Linked DNA regions of Homo sapiens: region 2 is linked to region 1. Evidence: promoter capture Hi-C in human tissues and cell types (Jung and others, 2019). All regions are on one chromosome and are shown on one strand. Each heading gives the region's core, a stretch centred on a gene start or on the middle of the fragment in contact. The rest is flanking DNA. Distances are from core to core; before and after follow the strand shown.

Region 1 (2,700 bases), core at 149-2,648:
CTGCCACCACGCCCGACTAATTTTTCTATTTTTAGTAGAGATGGATTTTCATCATATTGGTCAGGCTGGTCTTGAACTCTGGACCTCGGGAGATCCACCTGCCTCAGCCTCCCAAAGTGCTGGGATTACAGACATGAGCCACCATGTCCGGAGTGCCACACTTCTAAACCATCAGATCTTGTGAGAACTCACTCATTATCATGAGAACAGCATGAGGGAAATCTCGCTCATGATTCAGTCACCTCCCATATAGTCCCTCCCCTGACACATGGGGATTACAGTTTGACATGAGATTTGGGTGGGGATACAGAGCCAAACCATATCACTCCTTATGAGAATCTAATGCCTGATGATCTGTCACTGTCACCCGTCACCCCAGAAGGGACCATCTAGTTGCAGGAAAACAAGCTCAGGGCTCCTACTGATTCTGCATTATCGTCAGTTGTATGATTATTTCATTATATATTACAATGTAATAATAATAGAAATAAAGTACACAATAAATGTCATGTGCTTGAATCATCCCGAAACCATCCCTCCCCACTGCCGAGTCCATGGAAAAATTGTCTTCCACAAAACCAGTCCCTGGTGCTAAAAAGGTTGGGGACCGCTGCTGTAGAGGGACCAAGGTGGCATCTGAGGACGAAGCTCTGTTTTGATGTGTTTTTTATGCCGTGACTTTGTATGCAACACACTCAACTCTTTTTTTTTTTTTTTTTTTTTTTTTTTGACAGAGTCTCGCTCTGTCGCCCAGGCTGGAGTGTAGTGGCGCGATCTCGGCTCACTGCAAGCTCTGCCTCCGGGTTCACGCCGTTCTCCTGCCTCAGGCTCCTGAGTAGCTGGGACTACAGGCACCTGGCACCACCCCTGGCTAATTTTTTGTATTTTTAGTAGAGACGGGGTTTCACTGTGTTAGCCAGGATGGTCTCGATCTCCTGACCTCGTGATCCGCCTTCCTTGGCCTCCCACAGTGCTGGGATTACAGGCGTGAGCCACTGTGCCCGGCCGCAACACACTCAACTCTTAAGCGTAAAGCTCCTGGGAAGAGTGCAGGTGTTTGGGCAGAGAGACTTGGTTATGAATCCAGTTTCCATTCTTCAGCCTTGATTTCCTTTTTTGCAAACTGAGGATATGAATACTTAACTTGGAGAACTCTTGTGAGAATTCCTCACCCTTCTCTTAAGCCTTTAACTTAAACTGGGGTATAACATAAGTATTGTAAAATGTACAAGCATAGTAAAGTATACAGTCAGTGAATTAAAAAAAACCATCCATGTAACAGTGCCCCAGATCCACATCTAGAACATTCCCACTGTGCCACTTACCCTGAAAGGCTCTCTCATGCTTCTACAATATGCCTCCCCACGCCTCGCCCAGGCAACCATCATTCTAGCTTTTCCTGCCATAGATGAGTTTTGCCTGTTCTAGAACTTCATGGAAGAGGTATCACACGGCCCGTGCTCTTTTGTGTCTGGCTTCTTTTAGCCAACATCATGCCCATGTGAGTCATCCATGCTGCTGTGAGTAGCAGGAATTCTTTTTCACTGCTGTGTATTTTCTGTTATATGAATATGCTACAATTTAGCATCCATTTTTCTGACATCAGACTCATTGCAGGTTTTGACTGCTATGAATAGAGCTGTTATAGACACTCTTTTTTTTTTTTTTTTTTTTCCGAGACGGAGTCTTGCTCTGTGGCCCAGGCTGGAGTGCAGGGGCATGATCTTGGCTCACTGCAACCTCCACCTCCTGCTTTTAAGCGAGTCTCCTGCCTCAGCCTCTGGAGTAGCTGGGATTACAGGCACGCACCACCATGCCCAGCTAATTTTTGTATTTTTAGTAGAGATGGGATTTCACCATGTTGGCCAGGCTGGTCTCAAACCCCTGACCTCAAGTGATCTGCCTGCCTCGGCCTCCCAAAGTGCTGAGATTACAGGCGTGAGCCACCGCGCACGGCCCTTGAACATGTCTTTTGCATATCGTTTTAATTCTAACTAGTGGCCTCACCCTATCAGTAGTAACCAGAGTAGATGTCATCTTCCCCACCCTGAGCCCCTTACCCATGTACCCCCACCCCCTCCTCTTCCTTTCATAAGCACTTTGCTCCTCAAATTCCCCACCTCCTTCTGTATTGTCATCTTCTCCCTTTCAACTGGATCATTCGTATTGACATAGAGACAGCTGTAATATATCCCGTTGATCAAACGCCCGGCCTCACATCCTTCTCTGCTTAACGCCCTACAGAGCAGATCTCATTACAGCTTTGTCTGCCTGGCCACCTCCGGTTCCTCGCTTCCCATTCTGCCTTCCATCCCCTATACCCACACTTTCTTTTTTCTTTTTCTTTTTTTCTTTTTTTTGAGATGGAGTTTTGCTCTCAGACTCTCTTTTTTTGCCCCCCTGACAGAGCAGTTCTCAAGGGTAGGGAAAAGCTTCCACATCTTGCCAAAGCTTAAAGCCAAGTCCCATCACAGCTGACTTGGCTTCTCTGCAGCATTTGATGTGAGTGACCTTCCTGCTCTCCACCTGGCACCTGACTTTCTTCCTCTCCCTCTGGGCCCTTCTTTTTTGGTCTCTTGTGTGGGCTCCTCCTCCTCTCTCATTTCCCTAAATCGAGCTCAGATGACCTCATTGGATTCCTTAGCTTCCAATACCTTCTATTTGTCAATATCTCCTAAGCCCAAACCCTCAATTTACATC
Region 2 (2,700 bases), core at 76-2,575, 76 kb before region 1:
ATCTCCACTCAATGCAACCTCTCCTGCCTCAGCCTCCCGAGTAGCTGGGATTACAGGCGCCTGCCACCACGCCTGGTTAATTTTTTGTATTTTTAGAAGAGATGGGGTTTCACCATGTTAGCCTGGCTGGTCTTGAACTCCCGACCTCAGGTGATCCAACCACCTCAGCCTCCCAAAGTGCTGGGATTACAGGCGTGAGCCACCGCGCCTGGCCAAGTGGTATGAAGTCTTTTGGAGAAAAGTAATGCAGGGAAAAGGAGCAGAGAATGCTGGGATGTGCGTGCAAGTTTTTTTTTTTTTTTTTTGATGGAGTTTTGCTCCTGTTGCCTACGCTGGTGTGCAATGGTGCGATCTCGGCTCACTGCAACCTCCGCCTCCTGGGTTCAAGCGATTCTCCTGTTCAGCCTCTGGACTAGCTGGGATTACAAGCGTGCGCCACTACGCCTGGCTAATTTCGTATTTTTAGTAGAGACGGGGATTCTCCATGTTGGTCAGGCTGGTCTCGAACGCCCACGACCTCAGGTGATCCACCCGCCTCGGCCTCCCAAAGTGCTGGGATTACAGGCGTGAGGCACGGCGCCCGGCCTGGACTTCTTACATTAGCTATCAGAGCGGTGATGGTGCGCATCAGCCATGGCCAGGGACAGGAATATAGGGAGATGATAATAAAGGTGGTAATGAAGTCACGGCCACCTGCCCTTATGAAGTCAAAATCATTAAAGACCCAGTGACGTTCATGCCATCCAGGGTTGAGGCCTCTCTTCTGCCCACCTGTGGTCCCAGGCCTAGTTAAACACCAAAGCTGTCTCTCACACTGGTGGTTCCAGGATAAAGCCTCGGCCTGGGGCCTGGTCTGCACGTTAGGCGCCGGCCGCAGCTCGCAGGAGGACCCGAGCCAGCCCGCCCCTTCCCGCACAGCCTGCTGGGAGTTGTAGTTCAGTCGTCGGAGAACCACGCCAAGCCCCGCCCCAGATGAGTGCGCAGTATGAGGACCGCTGGCCGGGACCCAGTGAGCGCGGGACTACAATTCCCAAAGGACGGTAGCACTCAGCGCCCCGCCAACAGGTACCCGGCGGCTCGCTTCGCGCACACGCGGCAGGCGGTGGCGGGATTCTGCCGCGTGCGCTTTCCCGCCCCGCCTCGCCTAGCCTCGTCCTGCGCTCGCCACGCCTCGGGCTGTCCGTTGGGCCACGCAGACCGCGCTGCGCTCGCTCCGTCGCGGCTCCGCGTGCCCCACCTTCTGGCTAGTTTTTTCTAGAGCCCAGGCTCCGCCCGTTTCCCGCTTCCAGGGCCCGGTTCGTTCCCGCCCGCACCCGTCCCTCTCCTCTGCACCCCTGCTGCTTCTGCTTTGAAGGCGGAGGCTCCATGTTGTCCCCTCAGCGAGTGGCAGCAGCTGCCTCAAGAGGAGCAGGTGAGGCGCCGATTTTCCCTGGATCGCCCCGCGGCCACCCCCGCCGCCTTCCCTGCTGTAGTTCTGAAAAGAACCCCCGCCCGCGCCGCCGCCCTTCCTCGTCCCGGGGCTGGGACCGCGCGTCCCTCGCCGGGGTCACTCGGTTTCCGAATTTGTGGTGGGGGGGCCCCTCTTCGGGCCCAGCTGGTCCAGCGAGGGCGGCACCTTCCTTACTTTTCGGCCGGGGGCGGCCGCCGTCAGGGCTCGGGCCCTGGTGCCGCCGGGGGCTCCTCCAGCTCCTCCCCTGGGCTGCAGCTGCCCCTGGGCGGCCCAAGGGCCGGTGGTCCCCGTGGGCGGCGTCCGGAGCTTCGGCCCCGCCGAGCCCCGCCCTGGGCAGAGCCGGGCGCCCCAGGGCGCTGCCCCTCCGTGCCCGGGCACTCAGCGCCCTCTCTGGTCGGAGAATCGGGGCCTGGATGGAGCGGGAAGGTGAATGCTGGTTTATTTGGCCTTTCTGGAAGTGCTGGAAGGCTGCGAAGTGTCTTGGAAGCTTTATTTTTATCCTAACGACCTTGAGGCACTGACCACAAGTATTAGGAAAGTTGGTTTTCAACCCATACTTAACGCTGTAAAGAATTGGTCTAAATTGGTTTTTCGTAAGTTAGTGCTTTTGGCACAGTACGTTGTTCTTTTGCTTTCCCGAAGACATGAAACATAGTGAAAGTATTAAAAACCAAATAAGGAGTCACCGTGTATTCACGGATCTGATTTAGTCTGTCATTTTACTTGGCTTTATTCTAGTGTAATGTGTGTGCTGTTGAAATGACCGTTTCACTTGCGAAATCGAAGAGCAAAAAGGAAAAGAACAGTGAAGAATTTTTAAATGAGTCTCAGTTCTCAAATTCAAATACGAAGCAATGGAACGTTTTGTCAGTCTTAGAATAACGGACCAAAAATGTACGATTTCACATATTGGCTTACTTTTGGAGATTTAAGAAGCATAACCTACGGAGTACTAATCCCTGTCAAGAATTTAGCATTGCAACATAGGTACTGAAATTCAAATTAGTGCTTTTTTTTTTCCATTCCCACAGAGATTAGCTTGTACTCCAGAAATTCCTGTTGCCGCTCTAACACCTGTAAACACTTGGCTGAGAAGGATCTCAGTATTGCAGTAGTCCAGCACATTGTTTTATTATTATTTTTTGAGACGGAGTTTTGCTCTGGTCACCCAGGCTGGAGTGCAATGGCGCGATCTCGGCTGATTGCAACCTCCGCTTCCTGGGTTCAAGCAATTCTTCTGCCTCATCCTC

What was found. The method cuts DNA at HindIII sites, captures the fragments that hold promoters and counts their contacts. A contact is called where the count stands out against the background at its distance.
Region 2: a contact is called between the fragment with the promoter of ATL3 here and a fragment that was not itself captured in region 1, in 2 of the 25 tissues and cell types used here (bladder and pancreas).

What each region holds. Positions count from the first base shown.
Region 1 is chr11:63,594,267-63,596,966 of GRCh38, reverse strand. All of the region lies in intron 3 of PLAAT3 (phospholipase A and acyltransferase 3), which reads left to right. Among named protein-coding and RNA genes, the nearest start is that of PLAAT3, 19 kb to the left of the region's middle. The HindIII fragment of the contact is 6,558 bases long and covers 1-2,700 here.
Region 2 is chr11:63,670,001-63,672,700 of GRCh38, reverse strand. ATL3 (atlastin GTPase 3) reads left to right here and starts at 1,325. Exons shown (of 13, transcript NM_015459.5): 1 at 1,325-1,411. The coding sequence starts at 1,366. RefSeq lists enhancers at 809-918, 959-1,458, 1,459-1,960 and silencers at 1,009-1,128, 1,449-1,508, 1,539-1,798. The HindIII fragment of the contact is 6,643 bases long and covers 1-2,700 here.